Regions from separate parts of the Homo sapiens genome. Here regions 1, 3, 4, 5 and 6 are each linked to region 2. The links are contacts of gene promoters, found by promoter capture Hi-C in blood cells and fetal thymus (Javierre and others, 2016). All regions are on one chromosome and are shown on one strand. Each heading gives the region's core, a stretch centred on a gene start or on the middle of the fragment in contact. The rest is flanking DNA. Distances are from core to core; before and after follow the strand shown. Region 1 has its middle 15 kb from the start of CEMIP2. Region 2 holds the start of NMRK1 (nicotinamide riboside kinase 1). Region 3 overlaps C9orf85 (chromosome 9 open reading frame 85). Region 4 has its middle 48 kb from the start of CEMIP2. Region 5 overlaps KLF9 (KLF transcription factor 9). Region 6 overlaps SMC5-DT (SMC5 divergent transcript).

Region 1 (4,794 bases), core at 1,929-4,428, 3.3 Mb after region 2:
GACACCGGGTGCGGCGTCTCATGCCTGTAATTCTAGCACTTTGGGAAGCCTAGACGGCTGGGTCTCTTGAAGTCAGGAGTTTGAGACCAGCCTGGCCAACATGACAAAACTCCATTTCTACTAAAAATACAAAAATTAGCTGGCGCATGCCTATATAGTCTCAGCTACTCAGGAGGCTGAGGGACAAGAATCTCTTGAACCTGGGAGGTGGAGGTTGCAGTGAGCCGGGATCATGCCACTGCACTCCAGCCTGGTGACAGAGTGAGGCTCTGTCTCAAAAAAAAAAAAAAAAAAAAAGAATAGTATAATGAACACCCACTTATCCATAACCTAGAGTTAACAATTGCCAACATATTACCATATTTATTATTTATTATTCATGTATTATTTTTTGCTAATGTATTTTAAAGTAAAGATGTTGCCAGGTATGGTGGCTCAGGCCTGTAATCTCAGCGCTTTGGGAGGCCGAGGCAGGAGGATTGCTTGAGCCTAGGAGATTGAGACCAGCCTGGGCAACATAATGAGACCCCTGTCTCTACAAAAATTACAAAAAAAAAAAATTAACTGAGCATAGTGACTCATGCCTGTGGTCCCAGCTACTTGGGAGGCTGAGGTGGAAGGATCGCTTGAGCTTGGGGGGTTGAAGCTGCAATGAGCCATGATTGCACCAGTGCACTCCAGTGTGGGTGACAGAATGAGACCTCATCTCAAAAACGAAAACAGATGTCATGATCTTTTGCCCCTAATACTTCAGTGGGAACATCTAAAAACACACATTTTTTTCTTCTTTTTTAAAATTTATTTTACTTTTAAGTTCTGGGAGACATGTGCAGAATGTGCAGACTTGTTACATAGGTATACATGTGCCGTGATGGTTTGCTGCACCTATCAACCCGTCATCTAGGTTTTAAGCCCCGCATACATTCGGTATTTCTCCTAATGCTCTCCCTCCCCTTGCCCCCCACCCCTGACTGGCCCTGGTGTGTGAAGTTGCCTTCCCCGTGTCCATGTATCCTCATTGTTCAACTCCCACTTATGAGTGAGAGCATGAGGTGTTTGGTTTTCTGTTCCTGTGTTAGTTTGCTGAGAATGATGGCTTCCAGCTTCATCTATGCCCCTGCAAAGGACATGAACCAACTCTTTTTTATGGCTGCATAGTATTCCATGGTGTATATGTGACACATTTTCTTTATCCAGGCTATCATTGATGGGCATTTGGGTTGGTTCCAAGTCTTTGTTATTGTAAATAGTGCTGAAATAAACATATGAAAACACATATTTTTTAAAAAAATTTTTTCTTTTTTTTTCCTAAACAATTATGTGGATTAAAATTTCTTTTCTTTATATAACATCATTAATATTCCTAATATAGTTTGGATACTTGTCCCCTCCAAATCTCATGTTGAAATTTGATCCTCAATTTTGGATCATGGGGGTAGATCTCTCATGAAGGGCTTTCTGCCGCCCTCACGGTGGCAATGAGTGACTTTTCCCTCTATTAGTTCCTCTGAGATATGATTTCTAAAAAGAGCCTGGCACCTTCCTTCCCTCTCTCTTGCTCCCTGTCACCTTCCACCGTGAATGAAAACTGCCTGAGGTCCCCACCAGAAGCAGATGCTCAATGCCATGCTTCTTGTACAGCCTCTAGAAACATGAGCCAAATAAACCTCTTTTCTTAATAAATTACCCAGCCTCGGGTATTCTTTTATAGCAACCCAAAATGAACTAAGACAATAGCTAACAAGATTAACAATAATTCCTTAAAGCACCTGATTCCTTGTCCATATTGAAATTTCTTCATTTGATCCCAAATGTGTCTTCCATTGATCCACTCAGATAAAGATCCAGTCAAAGACTACATGTTGTACTTGATTATTGTGCATTTTAAGTCTCTCGTGGTCTGAAACAGTTCCCTTCCTTGCTCTGGCCTGTAACTATTTTCCTCTTTTGACCAGCAAATAATCTGTGGTGGCAGGGTGGAGAGGGTGTCAATACAAAGTTTGACTAAGGTTGAGTATATATAACATGGGCTAATCATACAAAAATATTTTACTTATTTATTTATTTATTTTTGAGACAGAGTCTCGCTCTGTCACCCAGGCTGCAGTGCAGTGGTGTGATCTTGGCTCACTGCAACCTCCACCTGCCAGGTTCTAGTGATTCTTGTGCCTCAGCCTCCCGAGTAGCTGGGATTACAGGCATGTGCCACTGCACCCAGCTGAAAAATCTTTTATTTAAACGCCACTGATGTTTGTCTTTCCTAGAAACAAACTGAATATGAACATGGAAGTCAGTATTATTTTTACTATTTTCTCCAGCAGAATGACTTTACCACTCTCAACTTGTGGTTAGCACGAGATATTACATCTAGATACTTCCGAAGGCAGAGGGGAGCAAGAGAAGAAAAGTCATATTAGGACCTAATAATCCTCTTGTTCCCCTCAAAATCCAAACCCCAAATCTAAATCGGTGATACCGACTTTTAAAAGCAAAGCTGCAAATAGGTGATGTGGGTCCCCTCTCCCTCCCCCACTCCAAACAACTTGAGCCTTGTGTAAGCAGCTGCCAGACCTGCCCCGGGGCAAGGAAGAGCATGCAGCAGGTCAGGACGGTATATGACATGCTGGCACAAACACCCGTTGTCCCACCTCCACCCTTTCCACCCTCCGTGCGTCAGCTCCCCTGCAGCACATGCCGTGAGCAACTGTGCTGCTGACAGTGTTATTTCCTGTCACGAAATGAAATGTGTAAATGAAAGTACAAAAGAATGGAGGGATGACTGGTGGCCCTGTCACACTGGTGACACCTAGGGCCTAGCTGTAGGAAACATGTCTGGCTGGCTGCCCCGCCTCCTCACGCCAGTGCTTTTCCCAGCCTGAGCATCTCCATCTCTCAGTGATATGCTGTCCAGGCTTGGAACATTCTGCTCCTTTGGCCACTCCAGGTGTGGGCATCTCTTGCCTCCTGTTTTACATTGGTTTTTCAGTCTGTCACAGTTGAATCCCTTTAGCTGTTCACACTGTACTGAGATTATGGGCCCATGGATCTCTGTGCTGGAAGGGATGTCATTGGCACCAGCACCCACCCAACAAATAGTGGAATGTCCTTGTCACTATTGCTTATATGCAGTTGGTGAAGTGGTTAAGAGCAAAGACACCCTTGGTTCACATTCCTGGCACCTACTGGCTATATAATCTTACACAAATTACTTAGTCGCTTTTAGTTTCCTCATTTGTAAAATGTGTGGATTGGCAGGATGAATATCTATCTGTAAAACACACACAGCAGTGCCTAGCTCATAGCAAGCATTCTATAAGTGTTGCTATTTGCATATACCTGTCCAATCTCTTCATAAACACATCCAGGGATGTGAAGCTCATGAAGCTACCTTTACAAGGAAGCAAGCTCATAAAACAAGACATTTAATCTTTGGTGAATTCCAACAATCAGATACAGCTCCTTATAGTGTGTGATTATTATAGGGAAAGAAGGAAATGTGTTGCCAAAAATATACTGGGCCTTGTGGAAGATTTTTGGCTACATTCTTGTCACCTTGTGGAATTATTTATTCCCATTTTATCAATTTGCATGTGGCAAAACTGAAGCACAGAGGATTTGGGAAATTTGTCCAGAGTCAAACAATGAGTAGATGGTTGAGTCAGGATTTGAACTTGGGCTTTTTAGACTCTAGCATCTTCAAATATTGGAAGATAGTAGTCATTTTCCAATGAGACTTTAGTTTTTCACAGTGGTTGGCACATAATAAGTTATCAAATGATAGATATTGTGATCTATTTGTTTGTTTTGTTTTTTGAGACAGGGTCTTGCTCTGTCACCCAGGCTGGAGTGCGGTGGCACTATCATGGCTTACTGTAGCCTCAACTTCCCAGGGTCAAGGGATCCTCCCACTTCAGCCTCCTGAGTAACTGGGACCACAGGCGTGTGCCACCACGTGAAGCAAATTCTCGTATTTTTTGTAGAGATGGGGTTTCACCATGTTGCACAGGCAGGCTGGTTTTGAACTTCGGGCGACCTGCCTCGGCCTTCCAAAGTGTTAGGATTACAGGCATGAGCCATCATGCCTGGCCATGACTGTTAGTTTCTATAATACTTTGTATGTTGTCAAGGCCCTTTTGAACCATCCCTTCCTGCATACAATATGCATTTATTCGAACCCTCCATCAGATGCTTGGCTTAGGCTCTTCTTGGTCATGGCCAGGATGGAGTGCTCCTGAAGCAGCCTGTTTCATTTTGGATAGCTCTTATAATTGGCTTTATTCATTTATTTATTCAATGAATATCTAATGAGAGCTGAGATCTCAGTATGTCAAGCACTGAGCTATACACTGGGGATACAATGGGAAATGAAAACAGCAAATTCTTCAAAAGAGTGAAACATATTTTGCATAGATTGATCTTCCACCTACTGCTATCACTTCTGCCCTCTGAAGCAACAGAAACAAAAGGTTAATTTGTGCTCCCCACAATAGCTCTTCATATATTTGAAGATGGTTTTTCAGTTTCCTGTGTGACTAAGATTTTTTTTCTCCAGGCTCTCCTTGTAACAGTAGTATTTTCTTTAATACTGCAGATGATCCAAAGATGATGAAAGAAAATAGGTCTTATTTACTTTTTCTGAGACTCTGTTTTCTTATCTGTGAAATGAGGATAATTATACCCAACAGATGATATTGTATTACTTGTCTGAAACAGAGTAAACATGTCTGTGCATTAGTGTGCATTAACAACATTAAATAACTTTAACTATGCAAACGTGTACTATGTATTCTTATA
Region 2 (4,131 bases), core at 1,632-4,131:
ACATCCCCCACTCTAACTGTTGACTTTAGACAAGTTAAATAACATTTCTGCGCATCTTTATTTCCCCATCTGTGCAACAGGAACAATATAATGGTACTGATCTCATAAGATTGTTGAGAGCAGCAAATGTGTTAACACGTGTAAAGTGACTATACCATTGCCTAACACACAGTAAATGTGGGACAGTACTACGATAGGACATTTCTGTTTTTGTTTTTTGTACTCTGTTGAGACGGGGTCTTGCTATGTTGCCCAGGCTAGTCTCAAACTCCTAGCCTCAAGCAATCCTCCCACCTCAGCCTCATAAAGTGCTAGGATTACAGGCATGGCCCACTGCTCCTGGCCATCGCTTTTTTTTTTTCTTCAACTAAGCTAGCCCACACAAAGTTTCAACTCTGATTGGCAGTAATGTTTCTCACTGTAAATTACTAAACTGGCAAACCCATTTCTATGGTAACTTTGTGTCTGGATCTCATTTGTAAATTAATGTTGATTCAAAATTCCCTTTATCCTGAATCAAGGACCAGATAAAACAAATTAAAATAAAATAAAATGCAAAGTTCCCTCTAAACACCTGTCATGTTTAACCATAAGCTTTCTGATGTGAAGGAGAAAGGAGGTTCCTGGGAATGTATCCACAATTAGTAACAGGATGACCCTTAAACCCCCAAGTGTGAATGAACCCACATGTATACATTACTGTGTACACACACACACACACACACACACACACACACACACCTGTCAATGTCCCTCCATTTGCAATATAGACAGCATTTAATACGCATGAAGAGATTTTTAAAAAGGGCATTCTTTAACGTATTTCAACTGGCAGCAGGTGATCAGAAAAAAATAAGATAAATAAAATATTGTTTAGCTATCAAAGAACAACTCTGCACTGTTAGATACTTAAGGTCCTGATTTGCACCTGAGTTTAGAAAGCTACCTCATACATATGCACTTAAAATGGAAATTTCTCATCAGATTCCACATCTAATGCAATGCAGAACCCAACTCTAGCTGTGCCCCATCTTTGCCCAGGGCAGAGCCAGTCTCAGCAACTTCCTTCACACTCAGCCCACCAAGATGTCAGTCCTCAGTGAAGCACTATTCCACATACGTACGTACATGATTATCAAATAAAGGGACTTCATACTCCAACTGCAGGAACGCAAAGAAACAAAACTAGATAAGTATGAAAGCTATAGAGTTTAGGAAAATCAAGGAAAAAAGTAATCACTGAAACTCATCTCTTGCAAAGAAAGTTACTTCAAAATTTGACGTAAATGGATTAAATTTCAGCATTTCGCTATACCGAAATTACACTATGGGAAGAAAAAACCCAAGAATACATCGGAGCCATTTATCTTCCATTTCCTGTATTTCCCTTAATTACCTACCCAAATGAATGCACGTAAGAGTTGTTAAAGTATTGAAATACGTCAGTCCTTTCTAATTACCTACCCAAATGAATGAGCGGAACAGTATGTTACAACTTTTAATTAAAATACGTCAGTTTCTTTTACAATTATCTTATTTCTGCATATCACAGAAAATATTCTAAGAACAGAGCAAAAATGAACAAGGACAATCCGCCCAGAAAACTGCTTTGAGGAATTTAGTAATCTCAGCCCTCTCAGGTTTAGCACGCCAACGTCTTTGGGAGAGCAAAGGCAAAGGAGATGATAAAATGACACTTCCAAATAGCAACAGCTGAGATCACTGCCGCATCCTAGATTCTTTCCACCAGGAGCGCGAGTATAGGGTTTTTTTCTAAACGCTCTTCCCAAGATCCCGAGGTCAATTTCAAACGCTGCTCCACGCTTAAGTCCCGAGGGAGGCTCGCTCGCCCACCCCACCCTGCAGGGATTGCACTTCCCGTTCGCTCTGGCCGGTCAGGAACCCTAACTTGACAGTGACAAACACTGAGAAAAGAGGAAGTGGCTAAAGATCATTTCATGACATTTTTTAAAGGGAGATCAATGGCCCTGTCTTTCCGGAAAACTTCCATGGGACGTTGCCATCACACCCTCTGAAAGTTTCAGCGAATGACAACGTAGCAAAAGTGAGGGCTACTCCCCTTTAAATATATATATATATATTAATCCTCGAAATCCTCTTGCTATCAAAATCGATCCCTCCTCCGTAACAGCGAACGCAAAACTAAGAGCGCCCATCCCGGTGGGGCCGATCTCGGAAGCCAGGCTCGGGGCCGGGTGCGCGCCGGGTCCTCCCTGCCAAGCTGCAGAGGAGGCGCCGGCACCGCGGCGGTCGCAGGACCTGGCAAGCGCCTACCTTACCTCCCTCACCTGGTTTGACTGGTTTGGGTGGCGGCTTCGACATCTCGCTTCCTGGAGCTGCAAATCCTAAAGACCCCGCCGAAAAGCCCACCGCTTGCCCGCCACCTGGCACTCCGGGCACCCCAGTTCTTTTTGTCTGGCTTACAACCGTGCGCCTCCTAGGACCGGCGCCCACCCTTGGCTGCGGGAAGAGCGGACGCAGGCAGAGCGGCTCCGCCGAGTGCTCCGCCCCGCCCCGCGGCCGCCGGAGCAGTCCAGAGCGCGCGCCGGGCCGACGAGGAAGTGGACCCCGCCTAGCCGAGCGCTAATTGGCTCCCGGGCTGGCAGCTTCGCCGCAGCAGGAGCGCGGGCGGCGCGCACGGCGGCGGAACCAGCCGGAGCCGAGCGAGGGCGAAGCGGGCGTGCGCCAGTGCAGTGCCGCGGGCCGCGCGCGCTCCCGATAGGGAAGGGCCGGAGCTGCGCAGGGGCGCGCGGAAGAGGCCAAGCTAGCCGGAGCCCCGCCCCGCCCCGCCCCGCCCCAACGGGGGCTGGAACCCGGCGCCGAGAGTAGAGAAAAGGGGCCTCTGGTGACCGCCCCTACCTGGCATCCCTCTAACCCAGGAGGAGCGTGGGGAAAGGGGCTGTGGGCCTCTCGGGGAGCGAGCTGCGGGTAGCGGCGCACTGGGTACAGGCGCGCGCTTGGCTGTCGCCTCTGCCGCTGTGTTTGGGAGGACTCGAACTGGCGCCAGGTGAGTGCGTACCTGCTCGCCCCTGCCGCGCCGCGCCGCCTTGCTGGGGCCTGGAGGTGTTTCCAGAGGGTTTCTGTGCTGGAGCCCGGGACTTGGTTGCGCCCTGAAAGCCTTGCCTGGACTCTTGCCACCCTCACAGAGCTGATAGGTGGCCTGCCGAGGAGGACGTGTACTCATGGTGGCGTGGTGCTCTAGCGCCCCGGAATAATCCTGAAAATGGGAACGCTGCCTCCAAGAGACCGCGCAGCCTGGAGAAGTCGCCAGGGACAGGATCAGGACTTGATCCTCGCGGATCGATATGGTCTCATTCCTCTAGCGTTGGGGTGATGACCTACTGCCCGCCTGCTGCCTGTTACTGTAAGGCCTGCTAAGAATTTTTTTTTTTTTTACTTTTTTTAATGACTGAAAAGAAATAAAAAGAAATATAATACTTTGTGACACGTGAAAATTACATGAAATTACGATTTCAGTGTCCGTAAAATTTTACTGGAACACGGTCACGCTCATTTGCATCTGTGTTTTCTGTGGCCGCTTTCGCATTACCCAGCAGGGTTGAGTAGCAGCTGGCAAAGCCCAAAGCATTTCCTGTCTGGCACTTTACAGAAAAAGTTTTCCTACCCCTGATCTATCGGATTGAATCTTCGGTGGGAGGAAAGAACTGGAGCACACAAGGAAGCCAATGGCATAAGTTCAAAATAACAGTCAATATTGTAAATTAATTGTATATTTGGGGAAAGAAAAAACTGTTTACCTAAGAACCTACATAAATGAAACCAATGGGGGAGGGGCATGAATTGCGTTTTCAAAAACCCCAGCCCTTCACGTCTGTAATCCCAGCACTTTGGGAGGGCAAGGCGGGTGGATCACGAGGTCAAGAGATCAAGACCATCTTGGCCAACCTGGTGAAACCCGATCTCTACTAAAACTGCAAAAAATTAGCCGGGCGTGGTGGCAGACGCCTGTAGTCCCAGCTACTCGGGAGGCTGGGGCAGGAGAATCACTTGAACCCAGAAGGCGGAGGTTGCAGTAAGCCGAGATTGCGCCACTGCACTCCAGCCTGGCAACAGAGCGAGACTCTGTCTTAAAAAAAAAAAAAAAACCCA
Region 3 (4,531 bases), core at 1,407-3,906, 3.2 Mb after region 2:
GTAAATACAGATGAAGCTTAACTCACTCACCTGCAGTTCAACTCCTGCTGTGTGGCCCAGTTCCTGACAGGCCATGGACCGATGCGGGGGTCGGGGGCTGGGGACCCCTGCTCCACAGGGAGACAAACTCAAACATCATGACTAGAGTTTGCAGATAAAGACTTACAAAAAGGTAAAGATGAAAAGACAATTAGAATTATTGTGACTTGTGGTTAGCTGAGATATTCAATATCTGTTAGAATGTTAACTTGTTTTTATTTCTGAAGAATAAAATAGTTGTCTTTTAAAATAGGAACACTAATATAATTAGTGTTCCTTCAACTTTCCCAAAACAAAAGGCAAGCAAACAAAAACAGAACTTTAAAACATCTAGGTGGTTCATCAGTCCTTTGCCTGTAATACCTATTTTTTTTCCCTCCCTGTGGCCCAGGCTGGAGTGCAGTGGCACGATCTCAGCTCACTGCAACCTCTGCCTCCTGGGTTCAAGTGGTTCCCCTGCCTGAGCCTCCCAAATAGCTGGGATTACAGGCGGCCACCACCACGCCTGGCTAATTTTTGTATTTTTAGTAGAGACGAGGTTTTACCATGTTGGCCAGGCTGTTTGCAAACTCCTGACCTCAAGTGATCTGCCTGCCTTGGCCTCCCAAAGTGCTGTGATTACAGGCATGAGCCACTGTGCCCAGCCTTCTTGGTTTTCTTTGTTTGTTTGTTTGCCTATTTTTGACTGAGGTAAAATTTATATCAATGTCATGCATAGGCCTTAAACGTACAATTTAATGAGTTTTAATATATTTGCTCTTATAATCTTCACTGCTCCTGCCACTCCAGAAAGTTTTCTTGTGCCTTTCTGGTCTCTATAGATGGAATCACATAGTATGCTCTTTTGTATCTGGTTTGTTTCCCTCCACATTAGTGTTTCCAAGATTCATCTGCTTTGCTTGTATCAGTTTTTCTTTTTTTTAAAATAGCAGAGTAGTATTCCATTGCATGCCTCTGCCACAATCAGCTTATATATATTCTCCCGTTGATAGATATTTGGAGGTTTTCCCCATTTTTGACAACTGTGAATAAAGGTGTGTGTAAACACAGAATCCTGTTCTGCTGTATAAATGCAATCATAACTAATCTTAAACTTGACAGCTTTCTGCCTAAATCAGGAGCCAAGAAAATGGACTAAATTAGTATCTACTTTCACATTAACTCAGCAAAAGGAGCCTCTGCTACAGAGCCCAGGCTGATGAGATGAGATCCACCCCAACCAGCCCACATGTATGGCATGTGATACTCCAGGGGCCACACCTCATGAGGAAAGACTCTCCCTAGAACATTTCAAACAAGCAATGTTTAGTATTGGTGGCAATAAACCACACTCATTTCTGTTCTGACCCTAATCTGGTGTCACACTGCTTCCATTACACCCAAAAATACAGTACATATATTTTTTAAAATCACACATACACATGGAGGGCTTTTGATTTACTTGCCCTTTGAATTGTCCTCCCACAGATCCCATCCAACCAATGAAGAGGCATGTGCTAATTATGTAACTCTGGGCATGTCATTCACCTCTAAGCCCTAATTTCCCAATATGTAAAATGGGATCATTTTGCATCTATCTTAGGGTTACTTTGAAGATGAAATTATTATAGATAATGTATAGCAAGTATACATAGTGCCTAAACATAGTGCCTAATACACTTAAGTACACAAATATTAGCTATAACAGGTTGAGTATCCCTAATCCAAAAAATCTGAAATCTAAAACTTTTTGAGCACCTATATCATGTTCAAAGTAAATACCTGTTGGAACATTTTGGATTAAAGAGTCTAAACTGATATAATGTAAATATTCCAAAATCTGAAAAAATCTGAAATCCAGAACACTCTGGTCCTAAGCATTTCAGATAAATAATACTCAACTTGTATTAATAAAACTATATTTCCAAAATTATTTAGAGTACACCCATAGACTTCCATTTTCCATCTCCATCTCAAGATGAAGACTATAGTTTCCTAAAATTAGTGAGCTCCACAACAAATTAGTTCAATAGGTATTATGTAAATCAAAGCGTTCCATAGCCAAGCAAGTTTTGGTTGAATAATTTTTTAACTGCAAAACATTGATTTATTCCAATGTATACTACGACCCACCTCTAAAAGTGAGATCTAGTATACAGTATTTCCAAAGTGATTTGATCATGAAATTTTCTCCTGCCCTATGAAGAAGATACATGACCTTGGGGCTCTAAGAAATATATTTTGGGAAATGCTATTAAAAACAATACTGACTATATATATATTATTAATAGCATCCTCAAAAGGATGACAGATGCTCCTCCATTTAGTTTAATGTTACTCATCCTTCTGATTTTTGGGGAGCTTTCCTTAACCCTCCAAACATAATCAAGACTTCATGCTATTATAGATACTCTCAGGGCTCCCTAGACCGTTCTTTCATAGCTCTTACTGCTGTAGTATTAACATACTTGAAAGATTATTTGATTAATGCCTGTCACTTCTCCCACCAAATCACAAGCTTCAATTAAGACTGTGACTGTATATTTTGCTCAACCCTATACTTCCAATATCTAGCACAATGTTTGGTACCAGATAACACATGTGGAATACAGACAGGAATACCAGAATTTCACTGCGGCCTTTTTGGCATAGTGCAAAACTGAAAACAACTCAATGTTTATTAATAGGAAAGTAGTTAAATAAGCTAATCCACATTTGTGCTGTATAATATTACACAGCCATTTAAAAAATAAGCTTAATCTTTCTGTTCTGACACATCCACTTTACTGAATGAGAAGGGCAAAGATGTATTTTATTACATATGCACTGTATCATACAGACATATCTAGAAATGTACACATCAAAGTGTTAACAGTGACTATATCTGAACAGGACTAAAACTGGGAACAGAGACTTTCACTTTTATACAGTACCTTATATACTTCTCTATTGTTTCAGTATTCTTCAACAAGCATGCATTTCTTTTCTAATTAATTTTTTTAGGCTTTGATCAACTGCAGGGCCACATAAATTATTATGGGCTTTATTCTTAGTTCTTATTTTTATCCCTATTTCTTAAAAATATTTTTGTAGCTGGGTACGGTGGCTCACACCTGTAATCCCAGCACCTTGGGAGGCCAAGGTGGGCAGATCGCTTGAGGTCAGGAGTGACCAACCTGGCCAACATAGTGAAACCCCATCTCTACTAAAAATACAAAAATTAGCCAGGCATGGTTGTGTGCCCCTGAAATCCCAGCTACTTGGGAGGCTGAGACAAGAGAATCACTTGAACCCAGGAGGTGGAGGTTGTGGTGATCCATATCACGCCACTGCACTCCAGCCTGGGCGAGAGAGCGAGACTCTGTCTCAAAAAAAAAAAAAAAATAATAATAATAATTTTTGTAATGATCTCTGTAGCAATCCTCAGAGGAAAGTAAGACAAGAGATAGTACTAACCCAGTATCATAGATTAAAAGCTATAGGTAAATTGCCTGACATCATCAAGCAAAACAAATGACAGAACTGGGGCTAAGGAATGGCTCTTTTCTCTTAGTCCAGTGCTCTTTTCGTTGGACATCACTGCCTTTCCAGTAAGGGAAAGAAGGCTGCCTTGATCTGCTCAACATCTCAGTACTAAATGACTAGAAAAGATTTAAACCTATTCCCACTGCCGACCCTCTGAATCCCCATAAGTCATTTGAGGGTACCGGTGACCAATGGCCAGAGGGACCTCTTTTAAATAACCCCAGGGAAGAGGAGGTTACAAATCCCGGCGCAAGCCCCTTCACTGTCAGATAATTCCCTCATATTGAGCTGAAACCTATTTTTGTTACTTTGATTCCCTGGTCCAAGTTTGGCCATTTGAAATGGCACAAAATTTGAATATACTCTCCTTTTCTAGAGTATATTCAAGCATATAAAGAAAGCTATCATCTGTGTCCTTTTGAGAATGAGTGCTTTACCTATATTAACTTCCAATAAAACATCTGTAATTATCCAACTTCTAATTGCAGTGAGTCCTAACAAACTGCTTGGCAGAGGAGGAAAAGAAAAACTATCATGTAGGACCCCTACCAAATCATAAAGTATTTAATACAAGTAGTCAATTGTTACTACAGTCCTCTAAGGCAGGGGTGTCCAATCTTTTGGCTTCTCTGGGCCATACTGGAAGAATTGTCTTGGGCCACACATAAAATACACTAACACTAATGACAACTGATGAGCTTAAAAAAAAAAAAATCACAAAAAAATCTCATAATGTTTTAAGAAAATTTACGAATTTGTGTTGGGTTGCATTCAAAGACGCCCTGCACCATGTGTTGGACAAGCTTGCTTTATGGGGAGTTACAGAGAACCGTGCATTTTTTATCACTCCTTTGTTAGATGTCACCAGATCAAATAGCTTTCCAGTGTAAAGAACAGGCACAAAGTTAGGATCAGATGCTTCTGACAAAGTCTTGGCTTTAGATGGCTACTCATAGCAGATGCAAGAATCTGTTATGATCACAGACAA
Region 4 (4,622 bases), core at 582-3,081, 3.3 Mb after region 2:
AAAGTTATATTAATATAATGTGTACATAATCGCCAGCATTATAGACATAAAATGACGTATTAAATGAATGTAATCTTCAGTATTTAAGCTAAAGTTGGAGGTTTGGAGCATGGCAAGCTATATCCTGATGTGAATGAAACTTAAATGTTCCAAATTTTCCAAGACAATTCCTTGACCCATGGCCCCACATGTCCCTTGATCTTTTTGGAGGAGCTTCTAGAAAGAGTAGGTTATACTTTTCGTCCCCAAAAATGACTCTATCATTTTTTTCCTCAAAACATGCATATTTATTTATTTGTTTATTTTGGGAGACAGAGGCTGAAGTAGAGGGGCATGATCTCCGCTCACTGCATCCTCCATCTTCTGGGTTCAAGTGATTCTCATGCCTCAGTCTCCAGAGTAGCTGGGATTACAGGTGCATGCCACCACGCCCAACTAATTTTTGTTCTTTTAGTAGGCACTGGGTTTCACCATGTTGGCCAGGCTGGTCTCAAACTCCTGACCTCAAGCTATCCGCCTGCCTCAGCCTCTCAAAGTGCTGTGATTACAGGCGTAAGCCACTGCGCCTGGCCAAAACACGTTTTTTAATTAAAAAAATTTTTTTTCTGTAAACATGTTTTGTTTAAATCATCTGTAAAATGAAGTTAATAAAAGAACAAACCTGTTAGGATTGTTTTGAGGATTAAATGGATTAATAGACCTAAAGTGTTAGGAACTGTGCCTAGCATATAATTAGCATTCAATAGATATAAACTATTCATATTTTTCTTACGTTGTATTTATTATTCTCTGTCTTGACAGGGTCTCCACCACTCAGTTACCCAGTCCCAAAACTCAGATTCCACTCTTTTTACCCCATCCCTCAGAGACCACATGCAATGGGCAAAACTTATTTCTCTCTTGAATGTACTCTCTCCTCTCCATTCCCACAGACATACCCTTCATTTGATTTCTCATTAGTTTAGTTCCAGGCCTCTGATATATATTCCTGAAGATCTCCCTACTCCCATAAGAGTGACTGTTCTAAAACACAAATCTGATCATGTTCTCCCGCTAATGAAATCACTTCAATGGCTGTATGCGATTTACTCTCAAAGGGTTCAAAAATTACATATATATATATGGAAAGAAAGAGAGGGGGAATGAAAAATGGGGCAAAATGTTAACAGTAGATAAATGGTACACAGGTATGTTGTATAATCTTTTTTATTGTGGCAACTTTTCTGTACGCTTATATTTATTTTCAAAACAAAGTTAAACAAACAAACAAAATGCTTCACTGGCTTTCCTCAGAATAATATCCAAAGCCCTTACCTACTTCTCTAGATTTATCTACTCTCTTTCCCCCTTGATGTTTAAGCTTCAGCCATAATACATGATTTTACTTCATTACCTGTGAGCTTGCTCTTTTCCAAATTGAAATGCTGTGGTCTTTCCAAGTTGTCTACCTGGAAAAGTCCTGTTTATACTTCAATACCCACAGCATAATCCCTTCTCTATGATACCTGTGTTATTGGACTGAATTAATCATCTGCCTCCCTACCCGGGTTCACTGTGTTCCTCATTTTGACTCTTCTCCCCTTTTATCACATTGTGTAATTCATCTATTTCTTCTTCTAATCTCAGAGTTCTCCAGAACAGAGGCCCCATGTCTTATTCACTGTTGCATCCCCAAAGGCTGAAATCCTGATTTCTGCCCGCTCGTGTTTGCAAGTTCATTTTTAGTTGCCAGCTGTGCTGGTTTCTCACCTTCTGCCATTTGAAGTGGCCACAATGGCACTCAGCTCGCGGCTGCTTCCTGTTGTTCCCAGCTGAGCCTTGGCTCCTAGCTACTCTCCCTATTTTTTTTATTTTTATTTGTTTCCCCATGTGAAGGAAGTGAGCCCGTATAGACGCAGAGCTGAAATCTAGTGATCATCATTCTTTGTTGTAAAGCTCACCCCCACCCTTGCCGCTCCAGTGACCTCCTTCCCTTTATTCTAATTCTGTGTTTTAGAGCCAGTTGCTTTACATCTAGGAAGTCTCAGTTTTCTCCTCTAGGAGAGTATGCTTGAGTCCAACATTCCTTGTTAGAGAGGATTTTTTTTTTTTGCTTATCCCTCTTGTTCAGACAGTGCATACAGTTCATTTGATCTAATTCTTCGTGCTAATTTGTCAAAGTTCATCAAACATTAACAGAAACTAACTAGTTATTTCCTTAGAGTTATGTAAGTCAAAGACCAGCGTGCTGCACTCTTGGCGAATGTGTGCCTTTTTGGATTATGTTTTCATTCTACAGATATTTTAGGAAAACGTAAGCTTAGCCCATTTCTAGCAATAAATGGCTTTTCTAAAAGTTCCAAGTTTTCATTGCTATCTTTCAAAAATATTTGTTTTGTGACTAAGAAATAAAGGGAGCCTCTAGAGAAGAAAAATATCAATATTGGTTATAAAACACATTCACTCTGAAATACCAATACCACTTCACTTGTGTGTGAACATAAGAAGTATGACTCTGAAATGAATGCTTCATGACAGCAAGGATCATGTCTTTCTTTCTTGTTCAACACCCTATGTCCAGTGCCTTGAACAGTTCCTGACCCATGGTAAGCGCTCAACAAATATTTGGTGGGTGCCTTAGTGAAGGAAGTCAGCGAACCTATTTGGGAGGATGTCATAGTTCAAGGAGCTTAAATATATTGAAGCAAGTGGAAAACAGGATCCTGAATAGCTTCTTTGGGCCCTGAAATTTGTCTTAAGAATACCACATGATGTTTCTGCTGTAGCTATAATGAAGATGTTCAGCCACGCCTGGTCAAGGTCATCTCATGGTGGGTCGTCTCTAAATGTTTCTGGAATGGAAAGTTGTAACAATATTTTTTGGTCACTTTGTGTTCCCACTGTTGTACGTTGCAGTATTTTGAGCCAGAGGTTTTCTGGAGTAGTTTTACTGTAATACGGGGCTGAGTTACTGACAGCCATCCCCTTTCTTACCTGCTTTTTACCAACACAGTACAGTTTCCTATACCTATCAGTGATAGGGAAATGATACAGCTGACATTAGTACACATGAGTAACCCAAAGTTGTTTTGTGTTAATCTTCCAGGTCATATGCTCTAACTTTACTCATGTTTTAAATGATTTGCTGTTATTTTCTTAAAGACCCATTTTATTTTCTCTTTGAGTTCATGTTCTTTTTCTTGGCAGCCATGTCTAGATATTCTTTTTTTTTTTTTTTTTTTTGAGGCAGGGTCTCACTCTGTCGCCCAGGATGGAGTGCAGTGGTGCAATCTTGGCTCATTGCAACCTCCACTTCCCGGGTTCAAGTAATTCTCTCTGCCTCAGCCTCCCGAGTAGCTGGGATTACAGGCACCTGCCACCAAGCTGAGCTAATTTTTGTATTTTTAGTAGGGATGGGGTTTCACCATGTTGGGCAGGCTAGTCTCAAACTCCTGGCCTCAAGTGATCTGCACACCTTGGCCTCCCAAAGTGCTGGGATTACAGGCATGAGCCACTGTGCCTGGATATATATATATATATATATATATATATATATATATATATTTTTTTTTTTTTTTGAGATGGAGTCTTGCTGTGTCTCCCAGGCTAGAGTGCAGTGTCACGATCTGCAACCTCTACCTCCCAGGTTCAAGCAATTCTCTGCCTCAGCCTCCTGAGTAGCTGGGATTACAGGCACCCGCCACCACACCCAGCAAATTTTTGTATTTTTACTAGAGACGGGGTTTCACCATGTTGGCCAGGCTGCTCTTGAATTCCTGACCTCATGATCCACCCACCTTGGCCTCCCAAAGTGCTGAGATTTCAGGCGTGAGCCACCATGCCTGGCTGATATTCTTGATCTATTGTTTTCTTCAGATTTTCTGAAAACTTTACTCCTTTGCTGCACTTCAAGTCTGCAAAATTGACAAATGAAAGTGTCGGGGCAGTTGGGGAGAAAGAGGCCTTCAGATATACTCTATAAATCATCAAAATATGATGTGCTATATATTCTCGGCATAAACTGGAAATGAAAAAAACTTGCTACAAATAGGAGTGACTCCTTTGGGCTTAAATTGGATTGGCAGCAACACAGATTCTGCTGTGGATTGAAGTCATTTTCTACCTCGGCACTACTCAGTCCATGGGGAATGGTGAAGTTATGATTTTGCAGCAAGATTCTGGGAGCAGGCCAGCATCTACATCTGTTCTAAACTGTAAGTGGGGCTGGAAAAATGCTTTGAAAAAAAGCCAGGGTAGGGAGGTGAAAGAGAACACAAAACCTTTACTCTCAAAAAGGCCATGGACAGTGAATCGATCAATTACAAAGACATTAGATTTAGAGAAAAGTTCTTACAGAAACAACATGTATATAATAATCCTGTCTCCATCTTCATCTGTTAAGTTTACTCTCATTTCTGACCATTCAAGAGTCATAATACATAATACAAGAAAACCGTATTAGGGAGGACTGAAACGTGACTTACGATACTTGGGATGAGTCTTTAATGAGTGAAATTCAGTGCTTTGGTAACACTTAGTAGACATTCAACACATTTTAGTGAATTGCATAATGGATCTCTCTTCTCCAAATATGTGACTACACCATCTTATAGGAACCATTTGTTTTCATTTTTACATTTTTT
Region 5 (4,576 bases), core at 26-2,525, 4.7 Mb after region 2:
CAGCGCCCACTGAAGAGCGTAAATTAGTGCCTAGTAATTGGTACAAAGGCACTTTCTGTTTCTATGCAACACACGCAGAAAGGAGGGGCAAAAGGAAGACGAAGAAAAAAACCCCACAGATGGTTAAAAAGGGAAAGAAGTGAGATCCTCTTTCAGTGGTCTTTGAGCAATCCTGGCTCTCTTTCTCCGCCCCACTTTTTGTTGAAAGTTAGTCACAGGCCTAGGCCTAACTCAGAGCACTTGGTGGCAGCAGTTGTTAGTATCAAAAGAATAGCACTTGGAGGTTGGAAGTGACCTTGGGAGGTCATCACATCCATCATTTTGTCTTTAAGAAAGCACATCCCCACCCTTTCTCAGAGAGATGGGGATTGTTCTCTTGAAATGTTTTGGGGGGACTTGAAGGGCTTTGAAGCACACCACCAGGTTTCAAAAGCTGCCTATCTGCCTTGACTAGCATGTGAGTGGTCATACTGTGTAATCTCCCAGAGCCTCACCAGCTCATGAGGGTACTAGGTAGTTGGAAGCATTTGTCAGCAGAAAATGCTAAAGCCCCTAGCTTCAAGCTTGGCTCTGCGGGTGCCTAGGAATTTTTCCTTCATTTTGAATTCTTTGCAGTACTTTCATTTGAATTCTTTCCCCCCACTTGCTCTCCTGGGACTTCAGTCTATGGTTAACATTTTTCTTTTTCACCTTAGTTTAAAGGGCTGCTTCATGGAATTAACCAAGTGAAAGGGCAGAGGTGGAGTGAGCTGGGGTGGCCTATGCCCTTTTTATGGGAGCAGCACTCTCTTTAACAGCCCAAGGCAGAGCTGCTGAGAGGTTTCCTACCACTCCCTACCTGGAATCGTCCTGAAACTTTAATACCTTTTTGATGCATTAAGGCCACGAGTAAACATTTGTTTTATCCCAGTGTCAAGCAGTCCCCTCAGCAAATAATAGGACTAACATTATTATTCATAAGAATGTGATCCCCCCTGAGGGAGTGAGAAGCACCCATTTTTTTTTTAAATACATGGGACCTTCCAAGGCCATTCATTGCCATGTGTGTCCAAAGCCTTTTTGATGGTGTGCCCGAAGCCTTCTCTTTTAATCTCAGTTTCTAGTGTGGTATAATTGACTTTGGAATCCTGAGATGAGAATTGAAGAACCTGGATCTGAAATCTAAAGGTTCTAGAGCTGAGAGAACCAGTTTGCTCACGATCTAAGCCAGAGCTGCTGCTGCTGGGCCTTTGAATTTGTTTATTTTTTAATGAAACTGAGAATGATCACAAATTTGAACAGGAGAAAGGAATCTAGGAGAATTTGAACAGGAGAAAGGCCAATCCTTAACTGGCCAGATTGAGTCTTTTTAAAAAGTGAGGACATTTATTTAAATAGATTAAAGTAAGAGACGGGAGCTTAAGCCATACAAAATTAGTGACAAGGATTTGAAATGCAGTCAGTGGTGTTATGTATTCAATGAAGTTTGAACATTTTTCCAAGCTGAGCCTCCGTCCTTGTGGAAGGGAGTATCTCCCAAAGGGCCTGACTTGAACCAAAGTGGGAACCAGTGGAATAGGCAATGGTCAAAAACACAAAAGTCTCTCTTGGGAGTTTTGGACATTTTAGAACCGGGAGCAAAATTACAGATCATCTTGGCCCAAAGAAATAGAGGGAGAAGAAAATGTTTCACCATCTCTGTCTTCCAGAGAGCTAGCTTTCATAAGACAGGCAGTTAGAAATGAAGAGTAAGGCCTGACCTATTTCATATTGAACAGTCAAACTGAGGAACTGGAATGTGAGGGGGCCTTTACCTTCAGTACAGAGACAGTAGATAGAGTCGTCAGAGCACAGGCTTTTGGGTCCTTCTGACATGGGTTTTTGAATCCTGTCTCCACCATTCTATTTATGACAACTCAGGCTCTACTTACCTTCTCTGAGCCTCAGGTTTCTCATCTGTAAAATGGAGCTCAGTAATTATATATTTATGAAGTTGTTATGAAGCTTAATTCAGATGAGGTGTTTAAATCATTTAGCACACCATTATAATTAAAAATAAAGAATTTATGTGTGTGTTCCAGAAGCCCTTGATTCCTAGAATTTTTGTTTAGAATTCCAGATTAGTCCAGCACTGCCTCATTCACTTCAATTATTTATTATTATTATTATTATGATTTTGAGACTGAGTCTCACTCTGTCACCGAGGCTGGAGTGCAGTGGCATGAAGGATCTTGGCTCACTGCAACCTCTGCACTCTCCCCGCCTACTTCCCCCTACCCCCTACTCAAGCAATCCTCCCACCTCAGCCTCCCAAGTAACTGGGACCACAGATGCACACCATTTTTTGTAGAGGCTGGGTTTCACTATGTTGCCCAGGCTGGTCTCAAACTCCTGAGCTCAAACCATTTGCCTGCCTCAGCCTCCCAGAGTGTTAGGATTACAGGCATGAGCCACTGCACCCAGCCATCTCATTCACTTAAATTATTTATTGAGTGACTTACATGCAAAAAGCTGTGTAAAATGCTGGTACCAGGCACTTTGGATTTTGTGGCTAATAGTGATAATAATGACAATTTCTAACATTTATTATATGTCAGGTTCCAAGCTAAATGGTTTACATGCATTGTCACATTTAAACTCACAGCAATCCTGTGAGATAGAAAGGTGCTGTTCTTCTCATTTAATAGGAGGAATCAGACTGGGAGTTAGTTAACGTAGTTCAAGGTTACACTGGAATTTTCCTAGTCTGTCTCTAGGTGGGTGGAGTTGGGCATGAATGCTTGCTGATCTGGACCCCTTGAGTTTCCGCCAGTGGGAAGAGACCCTGTGTTTTACGTGGTTCTCTTGGGTTTGGTCCCAGAGCCACCAGTCTTCAGCTGTCTACTCTTGTTGTTCTGACTCTGGCTTATGGTTGGTTTTCATGAACCTCGGTTAGGAGTGTCAGCAGAAATCTTGGACTCTGACCATACCTACTCTGTATTTTCCATAGTTATCCAGAAGCTGCTTCCTTCCCATTGAAAAATAACCTGGTTGTGGGCCCAAAGCTGTATTAGTCAGGACAACAGAATCCAAACAGGGACTGGCTTAATAAAAAAAATGAAACTTTATTGGTTCAGGTTACAAACACATCTAGGGGTAGCTCTCATTTCGGTGTCTGTGGATACAGGCACTCAGTTTCTGCCTCTCCATGGCTCAGTTTTGCTGCCTTTTGCTACAGCCTCATTCATGGGGTTGGTGGGGGCTGTCTCCAAATAGTGGTGAGATGGCTGCCCGCAGTTCCAGACTCATATCCTGCCACTTAAGCAAACCCCAAGGAAAGACAGTTTTCCATTCCCAAAGATTCCAGCAAAAGTTCCAGGCTTTAAGCTCCATGACTAGTTCAGATTGTGTGCCCCATCCCTGAAATGAATCACTGTGGCACGACTGGGTCACATCCAATCTCTGGGTCTGGAGGTGTGGGGTCACCCTCCCTGGAACTACATATATCCAGAATGGGGAAGGAGTTGTTGCCAAAAGGAAATTTAATGTGTTATTTATTATCCAGAAGGGAACAAATGCCAGACAGGCAAAACCAACACCCATTCTCTCTGTCATCCCATTTAGTTAGTTATTTATTTTTATTTGTATTTTTTTGAGACAAAGTCTCGCCCTGCTGCCCAGGCTGGAGTGCAGCAGCACAATCTCGGCTCACTGCAACCTCCACCTCCCTGGTTTAAGCCATTCTGGTGCCTCAGCCTCCCGAATAGCTGGGATTACAGCCACACCCCACCATGCCAGGCTAATTTTTGTATTTTTAGTAGAGATGGGTTTTCACCAGGTTGGTCAGGCTTGTCTTGAACTCCTGACCTCAGGTGATCCACCCGCCTCGGCCTCTCAAAGTGTTGGGATTACATGTGTGAGCCACCATGCCCGGCTATCATCCCATTTATAACTACCAACAGGATTTTCCAAAGAACAGAGTTTGACAAAATGAGAGGCAAACAGTACGATATTTTTTTTTCTATATATTTTTCTTCCTTTTGGTGGGAAGGAGCTCCGAACTATCTCTGGAGTTCAACCCGAAAGATAGGCCATAAGTGAATGTACAGAAGGGTCTTTGCAGAAGATAGATGATTTTGACAGGTATTACATACGCTTAGGCAAACACCCACTGGCCCTCCTGAGTGGATGTTCTAGAAGCCAATAATAAAAGCCTCACATGGAACAAGTATAACAGCAGCAGGGTGAACTTCAAAGCCATTGACTTGGTTTTAATTCCAGTCTGTCCATTTTAATGTCCAGAGAAACAAATCATGTTTACAGGAACATTTATTACCCTATATGCTAATAGGTAAAAGCCTAGTCTATGCAAAGACGAGCTGTTTATATGGCAGTTCCCACTGGGATTCAGAAGTGTATTCAGTGTGCACAATGCCCAAGAAAAACACTGTAATAAATCATAAGAGGCAAAAAGTAGAGCTTAAAAACAACTTAACAAAAACACATAAAAGTGACTTAACTCCCTGTGCTCTGTAATTCTACAGTAGTTTTGTACCATTACCATTTTAAGGAAAATAAGCAGAATGACAACCAAACAGCTGGCTTTCTCTCGTATTGT
Region 6 (4,524 bases), core at 32-2,531, 4.8 Mb after region 2:
AGCTTATTTTCTATTGTGGGAGACAGGAAAAGAACAAGTGAATCAACTGTGAAATTAAATAATTCAAACTTAAAGCTGTTGGAACTTTAAATTATTCTGAGCCTTGCGAAGAATGTGGCGATGGGGCCTGAGTCCCATGGCATACAGCTGCAATGTCTGCCTTGTTTTTTCCTATAATCAGGAAGACCAAACAGAGACAGAGGTAAGACCCCCTCAGATCACTACCCCCTTCATAAATTAATATAGTTATCTTCCTTGGAATGTAGCTATCTATAACTAATCTAATCGCTGTAATTTATGCACTGCTCTTGTATTGAAAATGTACTCCTGCTGAACCTTCTCTGTTTCTGCCTGTGTAAATGAAACCTTAACTTCACTTTGGAACATTGACCCTATTTGTTTGGAGTTGGTGTTTCCAGGTGGCTGTCCTCAAGCTTTGCGTTAGAATAAACTCTATACTTAATGATATTTTCTGAATTTCACTACTTAAGGCTGACACAACAAATGATTAGCATAATGTCAGACTGTGACAGGTGTTAGGAAGAAAACAAAATGAACCTGATGGGTGGGAGGTACGGAAGGCCTCTTAGAGAGGTGGTGGTGTTTAAGATAAACTCTGAAGGACGAGAAGAAACTGTGACGATCTGAGAAAAGAGCACCCCAGGCAAAAGAATTTTGCTGGAACATACCAGTAAGGACAAAAGCTCTGAGGTGGGAAGGCCAGTGTTGCTGCAGAGCAGTGAACAAGGTTGCAGAGCAGAACCTTGTCCATCGTGGAAAAGCCTGAATTTTATTTTTAAAGCAATGGGAAGCCATTGCAAAGTTTTAAGCAGGAGAGGGCCATGTTCTGACTAAAGCTTTTAATTTTTTTATTTGATTTTTTTTATTTGATTTTTTTGAGACAGAGTCTCACCCAGTCGCCCAGGCTGGAGTGCAGTAGTGCCACCTCAGTTCACTGCAAACTCTGCCTCCCTCGTTCAAGCGGTTCTTCTGCCTCAGCCTCCCGAGTAGCTGGGATTACAGGTGCATGCCACCACACCTGGCTAATTTTTGTATTTTTAGTAGAGACGAGGTTTCACCATTTTGGCCAGGCTGGTCTGTAACTCCTGACCTCAAGTGATCCGCCCACCTCGGTGTCCCGAAGTGCTGGCACTACAGGCATGAGCCACTGTGCCTGGCCTTAAAGTTTTTAAATAATAATTCTGGTTGCTGTGTGGAAAATGGATTAGAGGGCACCAAGTGTGGAAGTGGAAGGCCACTTAGAAAGCTATTGCAGTAGATCCCTGATTCCTGACTCCTAGACCAAAGCTCCTTTCCCAGGTCTCTGCTGCTTCCTCTCACACAAGGACTCCGCTCCAGAGAAAATAGAGTAAGTAAAAAGCATGTGAACTTGTCGTAGTTACTGGAAATTTTCTTAAATGCAAATGAAAATGAGAGAGACGGGAAGGAAAAATCATTGAAAAAATTCAGACTGCAGCAGCAGCCTACCTGAAAAGTCACAGCAACAGGCAAAAAATAAAACAACCTTGGGAAAACCTCAGGTTGCACCTGGACAGATAGACAGCTTTAAGCACAGATAAACAAGCACAGGAGTGGGAGAGTCTCGACTTCATACTCATACAATGGGCCCCAGTAAAAACTGTGAGACTTAATAAGTACATTCCTTTCCGTTTAGGCCCACTAAGATACGGAAGCGAGAAGCTTATACAGGGAGGGTTGGGGGATGCCTGCAGCTGCAAGAAAATGTCTGGGAACAGACACAGAAACTTAAGCGACACAAAGCAGCACAGAGCAGCATAAACTAAAAGCCTGCTTATGTGATCAAGGAATTGGGTAAAGGCTGTTAGGAACTCTGCTCTATGCCGATAGCACACCTGGTCCCAACTAAATCTTCAGGCCCTGGGAAGATAAGACACCCCTCCTCACTAGTCCATTTATAAAAACCCTGACGTTTTTACTACAACTTGGCAGTCCAGTCAGACTCCCCTCTCTAATGCAGAGAGCTTCTTTTCTTTCTTTCACTTATTAAACTTTTGCTCCAACCCCACCTTTGTGTCCACGTTCCTTAATTTTCTTGGACGTGAGGACAAAGAACCCAGGGTACTAGTTCAGACAATGAGAAACTGCTACGTTAAGGTGCGTTGGTGAGACTGCAACAAAAATAAAGAATAATTTTTAAACTGTTCAAATGGCGGTGAGTAACGAAAAAACTCAGTGCTCAGGAGGGCACAATACTGTCCTTCCCTGAGTTGCTAGCATGAATTTTTTGAAAAGTAAAGGCTCTGCTTCAAGAGCTGTAGAAAAGTCAGATTGTTTGATGAAGTTACTACATTTAGGGGAATCTACCCTGATGAACAAATAAGAATTATAGACATTAGTAATGGGAGCTGAGGGCAGGGAGCTAGTCATCATTTTTGTACAATGATCAGTCCTTTTTTTTCTTCCCTTTTTTGGCAATCAATAGCAACATTTATTTCCTAGATCCCCCAGGAGAGGGGTAAGGAGCCAAGAAACCCCACATTATAAGACTTGGAGCCTCTGAAGTAGCTGTGTGAATAGCATGATTAAATAATTTCAGATTTTCTGTGTCTTCTTGAGTCAGTTTTAATAGGTTGTGCTTTTCAAGTAATTTGTCCTTTTCATCTAAGTTGTCAAACTTATTACATGAAGTTATGTGTTAATATCCATTAACGTTTGCAGCATCTATAGTGATGCTTCCTCTTTCTCACTTGATACTGGTAAATTGTTCATTTCTTCCTCTCATTTATTAATCTAGTAGAGGTTACGTATGTTTTATTAATCTTTTTAAAGGAACAACTTGATTTTTGCTTTTGTTGACTTTTGATTTCATAATTTCTACTTATCTTCGTAATTAACTTTCTGTTAAAGTTTAATTTGTTCTTTCCCCTCCAGCTTTTTAAAATTTGTTCTTTCCTCCTCAGCTTTTTAAAAATTATTTTTTGAATATATATATATTTGTACATATTAATGGGGTACATGTGCAATTTTGTTACATGCGTATGATATGTAATGATTAAGTTAGGGTATTTATAATGTCTATGTGATGGGTCCCTTTCAAGTCTTCCAGCTATTTTGAAAAATACAATAGATAATTGTTAACTATAGTCACTCTACTGTGCTATCAAACATTAGAATGTATTCCTTCTATGTGATTAGTCTTTAGTGAACTAATCAAATTGTGTTTCTAAACTTGAAATTTTAGAATGAGTCCCTGAACTTGTGATGACTTCACAAATGTAGACACTCTACAAGTTTTAAACAGCTACTCAGTCATGCTGTAACACCATCCTTTTAAAAAGGAAATGTTACTGGTTTTAGCTGTGATTACCATAGCAACACATGTTAAATGCAGAAAATTTGGGAAAACACACAGAAAAACAAACACATGCAAAGGAAAAACTTATAATTCCTCTACCCAGACTAATTGTTAAAATTTTGGTGTATGTTTTGGCATCTTTTTTTCTTGTATACTTGTACATATGGTCTGTGCCTTTTGTTTTAAAAAAGGATGATTCTGCACAAATTGTTCTATAGATACCATATTTACCCCTGTCCCCCACTTAATATATTATGAATAACTTTCCATGCCATAATTTTTTTTGTGATATAGTTTTTTTTTCTGTGATATAGTTTTAAGTAATCACATAGTATTCCATTAAACAAATGTACCATTCTTGATTTAAATAGTTCTCATTTGTTGGATTCTGTATAACTGGAAGTTAGCATAACCAAAGATTCTCTGGCAAACTATACTAGCTCAGTGCTTTTTAACACTTTGAAAATTTCATGCACCTATCAGAGTATACACATTATCTTGCCACATCTCGATTATTTAATTCCACTTTTGCAAACCATCTTGAAAGAGGTGATTTTAAAAAGGCAGAGGGAGATTTTTGGAAATAGAATATCAACCTGAATTTGATGCTAATTAATGAGTGAGCCACAATAGAGCCGATGCTACTTATCAGCTTAGTCAGACATCAGCTAATAGACATGGCAAAGCAATTGTATTTAACTTTCTACTGACCAAGGAGTAAGTAACCAGGGCCATTTTGAGTGACAGCCTTCCAATTCTGCAGGAACTTTAAAAACTGACAAATAAAAAGTTGACAGAAATGGGCAGGGTCAAGGATTATGCATGTATTTCACCTCACTATCACAATACACTGTTTTAATTTGGGTTGGTCTGCTCTAAGAAAATACCATAGACTGTGTGGCTTATAAAAATAGAAATTTATTTCTAGCAGTTCTAGAGCTTGAGAGGTGGGAGATCAAGGAACCAGCAGATTTGGTGTGTGGTGAGGGCTTACATCCTCATAGACAGTGCCTTCTCACTGTGTCCTCCCATGGTGGAGAGGAAGAACTCATCTCTGTAGCCTCTTGTAAGGGCACTGATCCTATTTATGGGGGCTCTGCCCTCATGACCTAATCACTTCCCAAAGCCCCCACCTCCTAATACCATCATAATGGGGGTTAAGTTTCAACATATAAATTTTGAAGGGA

Evidence for each region. The method cuts DNA at HindIII sites, captures the fragments that hold promoters and counts their contacts. A CHiCAGO score of 5 or more calls a contact.
Region 1: a contact is called between a fragment that was not itself captured here and the fragment with the promoter of NMRK1 in region 2, in 1 of 17 cell types (total B cells). The highest score is 5.3, in total B cells.
Region 3: a contact is called between a fragment that was not itself captured here and the fragment with the promoter of NMRK1 in region 2, in 1 of 17 cell types (M0 macrophages). The highest score is 5.7, in M0 macrophages.
Region 4: a contact is called between a fragment that was not itself captured here and the fragment with the promoter of NMRK1 in region 2, in 1 of 17 cell types (non-activated CD4 T cells). The highest score is 5.2, in non-activated CD4 T cells.
Region 5: a fragment that was not itself captured here is called in contact with the fragment with the promoter of NMRK1 in region 2 in 1 of 17 cell types (total B cells); the score reaches 8.1 in total B cells.
Region 6: a contact is called between a fragment that was not itself captured here and the fragment with the promoter of NMRK1 in region 2, in 1 of 17 cell types (total B cells). The highest score is 6.2, in total B cells.

What each region holds. Positions count from the first base shown.
Region 1 is chr9:71,781,255-71,786,048 of GRCh38, reverse strand. No RefSeq gene overlaps it. Among named protein-coding and RNA genes, the nearest start is that of CEMIP2, 15 kb to the right of the region's middle. The HindIII fragment of the contact is 9,079 bases long and covers 1-4,794 here.
Region 2 is chr9:75,086,905-75,091,035 of GRCh38, reverse strand. NMRK1 (nicotinamide riboside kinase 1) reads left to right here and starts at 2,881. Exons shown (of 9, transcript NM_017881.3): 1 at 2,881-3,028. It overlaps OSTF1 (osteoclast stimulating factor 1), which reads right to left and starts at 2,522. Exons shown (of 10, transcript NM_012383.5): 1 at 2,310-2,522. The coding sequence starts at 2,343. RefSeq lists silencers at 2,132-2,221, 2,412-3,011. The HindIII fragment of the contact is 4,153 bases long and covers 597-4,131 here.
Region 3 is chr9:71,914,055-71,918,585 of GRCh38, reverse strand. All of the region lies in intron 1 of C9orf85 (chromosome 9 open reading frame 85), which reads right to left. Among named protein-coding and RNA genes, the nearest start is that of C9orf85, 4.7 kb to the right of the region's middle. The HindIII fragment of the contact is 236 bases long and covers 2,539-2,774 here.
Region 4 is chr9:71,814,526-71,819,147 of GRCh38, reverse strand. No RefSeq gene overlaps it. Among named protein-coding and RNA genes, the nearest start is that of CEMIP2, 48 kb to the right of the region's middle. The HindIII fragment of the contact is 938 bases long and covers 1,363-2,300 here.
Region 5 is chr9:70,402,186-70,406,761 of GRCh38, reverse strand. The region is part of intron 1 of KLF9 (KLF transcription factor 9); the gene reads left to right. LOC124900273 (a long non-coding RNA gene) reads left to right here. Exons shown (of 2, transcript XR_007061576.1): 2 at 1-4,576. Among named protein-coding and RNA genes, the nearest start is that of KLF9-DT, 9.7 kb to the left of the region's middle. The HindIII fragment of the contact is 1,420 bases long and covers 566-1,985 here.
Region 6 is chr9:70,253,593-70,258,116 of GRCh38, reverse strand. SMC5-DT (SMC5 divergent transcript) reads left to right here. Exons shown (of 4, transcript NR_039990.1): 2 at 182-202. Among named protein-coding and RNA genes, the nearest start is that of SMC5-DT, 3.0 kb to the left of the region's middle. The HindIII fragment of the contact is 844 bases long and covers 860-1,703 here.